2 separate regions of the Homo sapiens genome follow, and region 1 is linked to region 2. The links are contacts of gene promoters, found by promoter capture Hi-C in human tissues and cell types (Jung and others, 2019). All regions are on one chromosome and are shown on one strand. Each heading gives the region's core, a stretch centred on a gene start or on the middle of the fragment in contact. The rest is flanking DNA. Distances are from core to core; before and after follow the strand shown. Region 1 overlaps MAP2K5 (mitogen-activated protein kinase kinase 5). Region 2 holds the start of C15orf61 (chromosome 15 open reading frame 61).

Region 1 (6,386 bases), core at 893-3,392, 81 kb after region 2:
GAAATGACCCAGGCAAACAAATTGTCATTAAACTTTCCATCACTTCGTCCCTTGGTATCGTCTTTTATAAATTGGACAGCAAACGTTGTATTGATCTTCTCGTTTTTGCAGCTGAACTTGAAATGACCCAGACTGCTTGTTGTTTATGGCCCAGAGTTGCTTTTCCTTGACATTTCCATCCACAGCATGACACCCTTTTTGTTTTTCTTTCTTTCTTGTGGAGATGAATGAACAAGACATACGATATCGGGACACTCTTGGTCATGGCAACGGAGGCACAGTCTACAAGTGAGTAGTCAATTTTGTTTAAACTTTCTATCCGCTTTTCCAAATACTGAGTATCCAAGTTCTCTGTGGCAAAGATTTTTAAATGACCACTAACACTTAGATTTTATTTCCATATTTGACTCCAAAATTCTGCAAGACATCTATTTTCTCAAGAATTGCCTGGAAAGTGCATTTATATTGCCTTTTTAATATTTCCGAGTCTGCAACTCTCCTGGGTGTGTAGTTAATAGTCCACCATTAGTAAGTGTACCTTTAACTGGCCTGAAGTTTAATGCATTTTTTTCCTTTGCTTTTTAACACTATTATTATTATTTTTTAACTTGCTAGTACCCTACGCTAGTCCCCTGCCTGTTTACAGTTATGCCCAGTGGAAGCCAGACCTTATAAATACCATTGCTTTGCCCTGTGTCAACACTATAAGTTATTAAAAAGCCTTCTTCCTGTTGTATTTTCTTCTCTCCTCACCCTACTCCCCTGAGATAATTTCTACACATTGATGAATATGTTAAGTTATAAAGTTCTCCCAAATTCCAGTTGCAGTGATCTTACCCCAAAGGAATGTTCATTTTCATCTTAAAAAATGCTAGCCATAAAAAATAGTTCTCCGACAGGGAGGTCTTCTCATGCAGTAGTGCAAAGTTTAAACTACATAATGTAATATCTGGTACTTAATAGTCTGCAATGGTGTATGAAAAATATTCCACTAGGAATTAAAAAATCCATACTCTGTAAGAAAGCCCTGAGGGAATAATAAAACTTTCCTCCAGAGAGCTGGTTTTCCATGTATACACTAATCCTGCATCACATTATGGTTGTGATATTAGATCACAACCACAGATACTTTAACATTGATATTAATATGTATTTCCAGAGTTGTAAAATAATTAACTTATTTTCTAATTGGTTACCCATGTTCTTAGAATTTTAAGTTCTGACTAACCACATGAATACACATAAAAATTGCCCTATTCTATGACCATGAAGGTTCACATCCTAAAAATCCCAGAACATCCCCTACTCATTGATGCAGCCTTGGTATAGAATTTGATTTCTCAGGCTTAGAAGCTCTTTTGAAGTAATCTGATCCAGTCACCCATTCAGGGCTTCAGTGCCCTTTGCAGATACAGCCAAGATGTGAGTCCTTTCTCCTGAATATAGTCCTTTAAGAACTTATGTTCACATGTTTGGATTGTTTTTTCCTGCAGATGACTGAGTATTGTGAACAGTTGGTCTGAAAATGAAGTTCTTCCACTATGATAATTCAGAGAAATAAATAATAACATGTTTCTTACATGTTCCTTGGGCCTTGGGCCTGGCCCTTAAAATTGAGGTCCAATGTGTCTAATGATTTTTGCGGCTACTATTCTCTTTCCCTGGATCATACTAGCGTTCCTTCCCACGCAACCTCCACTATAAACGGTATCTTTTCATCTTAGTCTTCTCTTCCTTACGATCTGACTTAGATTTTTCCTGTGTTCTGAAGGTACTTAAGTTCAGGTACCCATAGAAAGGAAAGAGGAAGAAGGAACATGTATACTCTGATTTGCTTCTATTGAGTTCCCTGGAGGGAGCACTTTTCAAAGCTTGAACCTTTCTTCTTAATGCCTTTATGCTGATAGCCAAATATAATAAAACAGGAAAGATTTCTGGCAACTCTTTGTATTCCTTTTATTTGCTTCAAATGGAATTTAAAAATGTTTATTTAGACTCCTAACCTACTTATCTGTGTTATTTCACCAAACCTTTAGTTTTATATTAATTGAAGGTCTATTGTGAATTTATTTTCCTAGCTTATTTCTAGAAGGGAAGAAGCATAAGACCATGAAACCCCAGCAGAATTTTTACGAGACATAATATTCTAGATGTTGACATTTTAATCCTTTATTTTAAAACATAGGCTTGTTTGTTTGTTGGTTGGTTTGTTTATTTTGAGATGGAGTCTCGCTCTGTTGCCCAGGCTGGAGTGCAGTGGCACGATCTCAGCTCAGTGCAACCTCTGCCTCCCAGGATTCTCCTGCCTCAGCCTCCCAAGCAGTTGGGATTACAGGCGTACGCCACCATGCCCAGCTAATTTTTGTATTTTTAGTAGAGATGGGGTTTCACTATATTGGCCAGACTGGTCTCGAGCTCCTGACCTCGTGATTCACCTGCCTTGGCCTCCCAAAGTGCTGGGATTACAGGAGTGAGCCACCAGACCTGGCCAGGTTTATTTTTTAAAAGAGGGAGTATACAGAGAAGTGGAAAAAACATGCCCATCCCCCAAGGGAAAATTACAACATGAAATTATGTTAATGTTGTTTTTAAAATTGTTATTTTAAATTGTGGTGAAATACACATAACTCAAGTTAACATTTTAACCATATTTAAGTGTATAGTTAGTGGCATTAAGTACATTCACATTGTTGGCAACTGTTAACACCATTCATCCACAGAACTCTTCGTCTTGTGTAATCGAAACTCTGCACCCATTAAACAGTAACTCCCCCATCACTCTGTTAATGTTGTTTTTAGCTAAGAAGCATGGCTAGAACTTCTCCTTTAATTAGGGCTACTATGTCAAAGGGACCATTCTTCTATATGTCCTTGCCACAAGTTTTTTAATTTGCTAGAATGCTGTGTGTAACGTTAGGAATTTATCCTAAGAGCTCATTTAGCTACCGTTGCTAATGCTCACTGTGAGTGTTGTAAGATGTAATGTTTTTGACAGGATTGCTTATAGATGGTGAATGACAGTATCCTGATAATTTTCATTCTTATATAGTAGATTTCTTATAAAAAGAAATTTCATTTACCTTATTGCCTGTGTGATTCTTGAGAGGGGCGGTGAAGATACCAAATTGCATAACCGCTTGTCATTGATCATTGGGCATCATTTTTGCTCAGGCTTCAGCTTGTATTATTGTTCTTATATCCCTGGCTTTTAGTACAGTGCAAAGAAATGATATAATCATTGATAAATGAGGATCCACTTTACTAAAGTCTCTATAAAACTAAGTGTTTGATGTGTTATGATTGAGTTTCTTCTACACTAAGTTCACCTTAATGGTGTTGATGATAAAAAATATGGTTTTTCAAACAGCATGATTACATTATAGGCTATGCTACATAAACTAGATGAAGAAAATATTGGAAAATCCACTCATTGGTAACAAAACTGCCTAATAGGCTTATTCCATTTTTTTCTTTAAAGTGTAATAAAGCTAATAAGTGCAAAGCAAAAGTTTAATAATGCAGTCTTATTCACTTCACTTGATGGAATTTTGGGAATTTCAAGGGATATTATAATCGTGTAATTACAATGTATATGATTTAACAGTTGATACATTTTCCTCCTTTAAGTGTAGATATCCTTCACAGTTGTACAATATGAAATTCTGGCCCCAGACATTTAAACCAAATGGTAATGTGAATTCTGTGTGCTGTCTCCTGACGAGCTGTGCTCTATATTATGAGAGTGACTTAGGCAGGTAATTTTAAGTTGGTATTTCTTGGATTACTAATTTGGGCTACATGGAACATAAAGGAAATACCTTAAAGTATGGCCCAAGCCTAGGAAGAAGAAAAGTTTAGGAAAAGATAATGAATGTATTTTCCTTGTTGCCTCATTTCCTAAAGTGCTGCAAGTTGCTCCAAAAAAATAAATTCAGGAAAGACACATGTTCTATTTCCCTCTGAGAGATTCATAATGAATTTCAAAAACTTTGAGAAAGTAGAGAATAGTATGTGTTGTGGTTAAGTGTGAGGGCTCTAAGTTTGAATCCTGCCTCTGTCACTAATTAGCTACGTAACCTTTGGCAAGTTATATAATGTCTTATGCCTCAGTTTTCCCATCTGCAAGATGGGGATAATAATAGTATCTAGGTTGGGCGGGGTGCGGTGGCTCACGTCTGTAATCCCAGCACTTTGGGAGGCCGAGGCAGGTGGATCACGAGGTCAAGAGATTGAGACCATCCTGGCCAACATAGTGAAACCCCGACTCTACTAAAAATATAAAAATTAGCTGGGCATGGTGGTGGGCGCCTGTAGTCCCAGCTACTCGGGAGGCTGGGGCAGGAGAATAGCTTGAACCCGGGAGGTGGAGGTTGCAGTGAGCCGAGATTGTGGCACTGTACTCTAGCCTGGCAACAGAACAAGAAAAAAAAATTAATAGTATCTAGGTTGTTGTGAGGTTAAATGAGAAGATCCGTAAAAGGCTTAGCGCTATGACTGACACTTATTAAATGTTAACTACTGGTAATGGTAGTACTAATAATAGAAAAATTATTTACATTTTGTACTTCCTACCTTGACTTGGCCATGGGACTCTTTTCTTTTTTTTTTTTGAGACAGAGTCTCGCTCTGTCGCCAGGCTGGAGTGCAGTGGAAAGATCTCGTCTCACTGCAACCTCTGCCTCCCGGGTTCAAGTGATTCTCCTGCCTCAGCCTCCCTAGAGTAGCTGGGATTACAGGCATGTACCACCATGCCCAGCTAATTTTCTGTATTTTAGTAGGGATGGGGTTTCACCATGTTGGCCAGGATGGTCTGGATCTCCTGACGTCATGATCCACCTGCCTTGGCCTCCCAAAGTGCTGGGATTATAGGCGTGAATCACCACCCCCAGCCAGCCATGGGACTCTTTTTGATAAACATCTCACAGAATTATAGTTGTGTTGAACTAACTTTGAGAAATTCTGCCTTTATATTATACACATTATACTTCTGTATTTTCTTCTATTCTGTAGTTGCTTAATGAATCATGATATCTTATGTATTATCTTAAATACAATGATTTTTTAAAGTTTCAAAGTATTTTTAATCCTAATTTATTTTCAGATTGCTATAGGACAGCTGGGTTAAGCCCATTTTACCACTGAAAAAACTGGGGCTTATCATGTGGCCATTCAGCAGCAAAGCCAGATTTCTATACAGCATTTCTTTTCTTTTTGCTTGGTGTTCTTCCCCCAGGCAGTGTTGTCTCAAGGTCAAGCAGAGTCCATTTTGTTTTCTTGTGTTTTCTCATGTACCCAGCACAGTTTTAAGGATAAAATAGACCCTTGGTACGTCTTGGCTAAAATGAGAATGAGGCAAGTGGAGGTTTTAGTGGGGCTCTTTCATTGGATCTTCCTCATATCTAGCTACTTTGCGAGGCTGTACAATTGTTGTAGAACATTCACCTAGAAGAAAAAGAATATCCACACTGAGGAGATTGATATTCGAATGATTAACTTTCTTTAAAATGTTAAAACCTTCAGTGCTTAGTATCTGTTGACTCACTAGTTACTGTCTCTTTTTCTTGGGTAGTATGTCATATGGAAATAAAAGTAATTAACAGGCATAGTTACTTTGGAAACATTGTTTGATTCCAAAGCCAGTCTCTCAGACTCTGCTTCCTTGGCATATCATTTGATGGAGTCACTCAAACTTTGGATCTAGAAATGAAGTAATATTTAACTTTTAGGATTAAATCATAGTAAGTCAGTTAGCCAGCAATCACTGAAAGATTATCTTTTATATTATTTTTTCCTTAATGCCAGTTATTCAAGCCAAGACTCATATTTTCAGCTTTGGGGCCAGATAATCTAGTCTCAAGATGTTTGAAAACTGAATTTTCTATCTCCAGCTCCTTCCCACAGGATAGAGTAAGAGTCTGATCTGGACTTGAGGTAGAATTTTCTCAGTGATACAATGGGTAGTATATATACTGCCTTCATGGTGTTTTGAAGGTTGAATGTATACCATTACTTAGGAATTAATTTGAACCTATCTAGAGACAATAAGAGGAGGGAAGGAATTGTCATTCTCAAAGATGCTGGTCTCTCCTCCTTTCTGTTGCCTTATCTAAAAAGAGGTATTTGCTGGGCAGTGGGCTGGGGATGGTCCTTGGAGGTGGTAACTGAGATCCTGTGGCCTATTAGGTTGTGTTTTGCACTTGTGATTTGACTGTAGAGGCCAACTAAAACATTAAATTACTGTTTGGGAGCTGGAATCATATTAGCTCATTATAGTAATATGATTTATTTAATGAAAATTAGAAGGACTGATGGTCATTTGTATAAAATGAGAAAATACATAAATTGTCTAGTTAAATGCTATTTAGTAAACAGAATATTTCAAAACA
Region 2 (6,493 bases), core at 2,515-5,014:
AGGGAGATAGTGAAAGAGCCTCAGGTTAAGAGAAACCCTCACTGCTGACGAGGTCTAGCCAAGAGAGCTGCTCCCAACAGAAGTCCTTCAGTTTGCTAGCCCTTTTCCCAAGCCTTCTTGATGTGAAAATGCAGTGAACATATGTAATATCTGGTTCTCTTTGTCAGTGGTTTTCATCTCATATGCCACAGAACCTAGGGTTTCTCAGACATACTTCAGGGGTTCTGCACATGTTCAATTCAAATGTCATGTTTTTTAAAAAAAGATTTTTATATTGCCAAAAGAGAGATAATGCCAAAATTTAACATATTGCAAACTGCCCACACATTAATTTTAGGTTAAGTCATTTCAGTGTAGATCTCATAATTAATCTCCTGCTGCCATTTTTGTAATTGAAGCACATGGCCAGATTTCAAGGTGCATAATTTAAAAATCACTCTTATTTGTATCTAATTCTCTGAAGAAATCGGAATTTTCTTGATAGTATACAACCAAAACAGAAGATGCAGAAATAAACTGGATACTGAGTCTGCTGTAACTGCAACTATGTTGAAGTTAAAATAAAGATATAGAGATTAATCTCTAAATTTAACAGCTTTCTGCGGAAAAAAATTGCAATTTGGTATATACACACAGACCAGGTGGTCTTCAATATGTCTGAAGAGCAAAGAGAAGGTTGGAGCTTTTATAAAACAGAAAAATGTTACATAGTGCTCTTTGAGAAAGTTCATTGGCACTAGTAAGGTTCTGAGGGGCTGGCAAGCTCCAATAGGTGAGGGATGGCAGTGGGAAGAATTAGTCCTAGAGTTGCAGCAAGTTATCTCAGCAGTTACAGATAAAACTGGTCTCAGGTCACAACAGGCAGTTTCAGCAGGGGGACTTGCAAAGAATCACATTTCTTTTTTTTTTTTTCTTTTTTTTTTTTGAGACGGAGTCTCGCTCTGTCGCCCAGGCTGGAGTGCAGTGGCGCGATCTCGGCTCACTGCAAGCTCCGCCTCCCGGGTTCACGCCATTCTCCTGCCTCAGCCTCCCGAGTAGCTGGGGCTACAGGCGCCCGCTACCACGCCCGGCTAATTTTTTGTATTTTTAGTAGAGACAGGGTTTCACCGTGTTAGCCAGGATGGTCTTGATCTCCTGACCTCGTGATCCGCCCGCCTCAGCCTCCCAAAGTGCTAGGATTACAGGCGTGAGTCACTGGACCCGGCCGAGAACTACATTTCTAAAGTAATGTCATATGTCCTGAGTGCTTTCTCCCCCTGGCTTTTCCACTGTTTTAGCTGGGGATAAGAACAACTCAATTCAAAGGATCCACTTTCACAACCACAACCCCCAGCTTCAACATTTTGCAAGCAACAGGATCAAGAGTCCTGTGGCAGTGGGGCCAGCAATGGCATGCTCGCCAGACTAGTTCCTGTTGGTCTTATCTATGTCTTTGCTGTTCGGACTCTCCTCGTTCCTTCCCATTTTCTGAGCCTGGTTCTCTAGACTTCTTGTTTACTATTTGGGCTACCTAATTTTCCTCCAATGAATCCCCTTTCTGCTCAAAACAAAAGAAAATCCAAGACAACAACACACTGAAGTTTCATTGTTTTGTTTTTTATCTATAAAGTTAATATAAAAAATTTGAACTTACAGTTGGACATGGTGGCTTCTGTAATCCCAACGACTCAAGAGGCTGAAGTGAGAGACTGGCTTGAGTTCTGGACCAGCTTAAGCAACATAGTGAGAACCCACGCCTAAAAAATAAGTAAAATAAAAAGTTAAAAAAAGTTTGAACTTATGCTTAGTAATAAAGCATAAGTTATTTTTGTTTTTTTTGTTTTTTTTTGAGACGGAGTCTCGCTCTGTCGCTCAGGCTGGAGTGCAGTGGCACGATCTCAGCTCACTGCAACCTCTGCCTCCTGGGTTTAAGTGATTCTCCTGCCTCAGCCTCCCGAGTAGCTGGGACTACAGGCATGTGCCACCACGCCCGGCTAATTTTTCTATTTTTAGCAGACACAGGGTTTCGCCATGTTGGCCAGGCTGGTCTCGGACTCCTGACCTCAGATGATCCACTGGCCTCGGCCTCCCAAAGTGCTGGGATTACAGGCGTGAGCCACCGTGCCCGGCCTAAAGCATAAGTTTTAACCAACTTTATATGTTGGGGACCTTCAACAGATTTCGTTTGAAAAAGGACTCCACTCTTTTTCAAAATTTAATTTGGTCAGGTGCAGAAGCTCACACCTGTAATCCCACCACTTTGGGAGGCCGAGGCGGGCGGATCACTTGAGCCCAAGTGTTCAAGACCAGCCTGGGCAACATGGCAAAATTCCACCTCTACAAAAAATACCAAAAAAAGCAGCCGAGTGTAGGTGGCACACACCTGCAGTCCCAGCTACTTGGGAGGCTGAGGGTGGGAGGATCTCTTGAGCCCAGGAGGCAGAAGTTGCAGTGAGCCGAGATCGAGCAGCTGCACTCCAGCCTAGACAACAGTGAGATCCTTTCTAAAAAAAAGAAAAGAAAAAGAAATTCTATAAAGTTCAAGTTCTATAAGGTAAAGTTCAACTTCAAATTCTGTAAGGTAAAGTTCAAGATTCGGCATATGTTGGTGGGTGCTCAATGTTCAATAAAAACTGGGGAATAGGCCTGGTGCAGTGGCTCACGCCTGTAATCCCAGCACTTTGGGAGGCCGAGGCAGGTGGATCACGAGGTCATGAGTTTGAGACCAGCCTGGCCAACATGGTGAAACCCCGTCTCTATTAAAAATACAAAAATTAGCCAGGCGTGGTGGTGCACGCCTGTAATCCCAGCCACTCGGGAGGCTGAGGCAGGAAAATCACTTGAACCTGGGAGGCAGAGGTTGCAGTGAGCTGAGATTGCACCACTGCACTCCAGCCTGGGCAACAGAGTGAGACTCCGTCTCAAAAAAACAAAACAAAACAAAACAAAAAACTGGGGAATATAAAATTTCGCCATACTATCCTACATCCCCCTTGAGTTTTTAGCAACGATAGTAATTGTTATATGATGCTTAACGCGTAATTACTGTACCTCATTTACATAAGGTGGTTTCAGACACATCATCTTGTTTATGTATGGCCTCTCCAAACAAAATGAGTTTAGGACAAAAGAGGAAATCCTTTTCTAAAAGCAGTTTTGTCCGTAAGTTACTGCCTCAAGAGGCCGCAAAGTTTGAGCAAAGCTTTTCCGAAAGTAATGGATTGGTAATGGGTGACTGAGGTCCACAAAGCTCGATAAGAGGCTCCTGGTCCGTCTACCAGGTTCTTAGAGGGAGGTGCCTTTGTGTGTTCGGACGCTGCACTGAGACACGTGAGGTTTTTAAATAAACTTTTGATTTTGAAATCTCTGGGACTAATTTTAAACAGTGAACCCGACAGCGAGGACCTACACACAAAAGTGCTCCCGGCCTTACCAAACAACGCAGACCCGGGGTCACGCCTCGTCCTGTTTCAACAACAACACCCAAGGGCTTCCCTGGAGCCCAGGGCGTGGGAGGGAGACTTGGGTTTGAGTTCTGCACCTTGCGGAGGTGGTTAGTTATTTAATTGTCTTCCACCTGAATTTTCCTCAGGCCCAAATTGATGAGACCTCCCCGAATCCCTCCCCTGCCCGAGTTACTAATGACGGCGTGAGGTCACACCTGGCCACTCAAAACCAGCTCCTTGACGCAGGTGACCCTCCGCCTCGCGCAGCTCACGCTTCCCATCCCCCGGACTCCACCCCCAGCGGGAGGCCACGGGGCCGCTGTGCGCACGCGCCGCCGCACACCGGGGGCTCTCGGGCACCCGCGCGGCGCCGGTTGGCCTTCCCGGCGCTCGCCCGGGGGCGCGCTTGCGCGCCAGCGGCTGCGGACACCAGCCTGCGTCCCCGGCGCGGCGGGCCATGGAGGCCCTGAGGAGGGCCCACGAGGTCGCGCTCCGCCTGCTGCTGTGTAGGCCGTGGGCCTCGCGCGCCGCCGCCCGCCCCAAGCCCAGCGCCTCGGAGGTGCTGACGCGGCATCTGCTGCAGCGGCGCCTGCCGCACTGGACCTCCTTCTGCGTGCCCTACAGCGCCGTCCGCAACGACCAGTTCGGCCTCTCGCACTTCAACTGGCCGGTGCAGGGCGCCAACTACCACGTCCTGCGCACCGGCTGCTTCCCCTTCATCAAGTACCACTGCTCCAAGGCTCCCTGGCAGGACCTGGCCCGGCAGAACCGCTTCTTCACGGCGCTCAAGGTCGTCAACCTCGGTGAGTGGCGACTGCCGCGCCCACGCGGTGAAGCCCGCCCGGCCGGGACGGCCCCTCAGCCACCGAGCACGTGACGAACGCTCGCAGGCCGGTAGAGTCCCGCGGGAGTCAGCTCTGCCTCCCGGCGCCGGCTTCGCCTGGGGTCCTTTGTACTCCTCGCCCAGGGGGTCCCCAGCTTGCTGAGCTCCTGGCACCCGAAGCCGTTCGCCTGCTGCGGGCGCGTCCTCGGGCCTAGGGAGGGGCGGGTCGCCCTCCTGTCCTGCCCATGTTAACCAGAGTAGACCCCTGGCCTGGGCAGTAAGCCAGGGGGCGTCAGGAAACGCCCCCTAGAAAGTGGCTCTGAAGTTGACATCCGTCCTACTGCATGGCAGGACTCATTCCCGTGAACATCACTTTGCAGCTGCGTTTATGTTGCAATAACTGGAACTACTCTTTTAAGTTTCTTTTGTTTTCTTTGTATGAATTCCCGGCAAGTTCGTTTTACTAAAAGCACCAAAGGTTTTCACCAGACATAACAGCTTCCTGAGGTGCTAGGCCTAAAAGATTTTTAAAGATCTTTAATATTTGTATATTTTCATGGAGACGCCCTGAGGATGTTTACTGTCACTAGGTGTTTATTTTCTTTTGGTTTAATGACAGAAGAGGGAGGTACGAACATGGACATGGGTGTATCTTTTATAGGTCAGGGGAAAACAGAAGGCCTCAAGATGTTTTGAACTTACTAATAGCTGGCATAAAATCAATCTAGATTTCAGTGATTCAAAATCTAGCCATGGAGCTGAATGAACCATGTTACCCAGCCAGGTTTTTAAAGCCAGGATTAAAACTAAACCCTGCGCAGCCGTACTACTAATACTATTACATAATCTGATCGTCCATTAAGGTTAAAAATAGTCTGTGTATTTGTGCTTATAATAACACATATGTCAGTCGTGGGCTTTTTGAGCCGTTACTCCACTGGACTGTCCTGTAAGGAGATAATTGTTTAGCAACGTGTTATCCTTTAAAAATGCCTCTTATTATTTGGCTGATGGACTGTATAGAGCATGCCCACTACTTTGGAGGTTGGTTGAAGTTGAAGGGTGAGGTGACTTAGGAAATTCAATTCGAAATTATTTGGAAAGACTGGAGTGTTAACTAGATTCGAGAAGTATAAGTTTATTTTAGCATTTTTCATAAGTAAGAAATCATTCTTCCCTAAAGAATAATAGGTTAGGAAAAGCATAACGGGAGAGTTATAGGTAAACCATGAGCCAAATGCCTTTTTTTCCTTTAAAGTCACATTTTTAGTGTTGACATTTTGTTTAAGAGCACCTTAATGATTAGGGGCCTCTCTTTTAGATTTAGAGATTAAGACATCCAAAAAAAGTGGATACTCAGAACATTCCACACATAGAAAAGTAAAACCTTTTAAAGTTGAAAGAAACAACAGTTGTAGTGTTTTTTGTTTTGTTTTGTTTATTAATGTGGGAGAGTGATTTAATGGTCTGTATGGTCTTTTGGACATTCTAAAAATCCTGCTAAAATGGGAGTAAGAGTTCTAAGTTAAGCAAAAAGGACAACTTTTTGCTCATGCATGCTTTAATACAAATTGGGATATACTGATAAAGGGAATTAAAAAATATTTTAAAGTGGTGAACACATCTGGTAACGTTTATTTTTAATTTTTGTCTGAAGGTAGAGGGGATGTGAATTAGATAATAGGTCCTTTCCTATTCTGTGAGGTACAATCGTCTCTCTGGGTGATAAAGTACATATCCTATTAATATTATACTTAGGATTTTGTTCCTCTTCTTCCCTTCCAAATTCATTTTTCCATTTTGTAAATAATAAAGATTTCTGTTTACCCATTTGCTCCTTTTCTCCTCCGTCTTCCCTTCAATGGAAGCTGACATTTTACTGATGGTTTACCAGTCTAGGTATCCTGCTGAGAAGTAGATTGAGATTTAAGAAAAGCAACTTACCATTGGAATGAATGAGATTTACTGAGGAATTCTAATTTTTTAAAGTGCTTAATTTGACAGTGGTTTACCTACTGTTCAGCTGACTCAAAGTGAATTATTATGCAAAGAACTGATTTGGAGGTTCTTTTGATGTTACATGTTTCAGATATAAATTTAATTTTTCAGAAAAAATTGAATTTTTCATAGAATCTTATAGACTTCAAAGCATGTGTGCTACAAAGATTTTGTAATATATAAGTTATATAGGTGGCAAACCTTCCCATTTTGAGTATTAGTCTGACTGCATTAAATAAACAGACAG

What was found. The method cuts DNA at HindIII sites, captures the fragments that hold promoters and counts their contacts. A contact is called where the count stands out against the background at its distance.
Region 1: a fragment that was not itself captured here is called in contact with the fragment with the promoter of C15orf61 in region 2 in 5 of the 25 tissues and cell types used here (IMR-90 fibroblasts, bladder, liver and 2 more).

Annotation. Positions count from the first base shown.
Region 1 is chr15:67,600,462-67,606,847 of GRCh38, forward strand. MAP2K5 (mitogen-activated protein kinase kinase 5) reads left to right here. Exons shown (of 22, transcript NM_145160.3): 8 at 224-288. Among named protein-coding and RNA genes, the nearest start is that of MAP2K5, 61 kb to the left of the region's middle. The HindIII fragment of the contact is 8,159 bases long and covers 1-6,222 here.
Region 2 is chr15:67,517,367-67,523,859 of GRCh38, forward strand. C15orf61 (chromosome 15 open reading frame 61) reads left to right here and starts at 3,765. Exons shown (of 2, transcript NM_001143936.2): 1 at 3,765-4,228. The coding sequence starts at 3,883. It overlaps IQCH-AS1 (IQCH antisense RNA 1), which reads right to left and starts at 4,478. Exons shown (of 6, transcript NR_040052.1): 1 at 4,153-4,478; 2 at 1,634-1,736. RefSeq lists enhancers at 3,352-3,431, 4,072-4,191 and a silencer at 3,612-3,961. The HindIII fragment of the contact is 11,118 bases long and covers 1-6,493 here.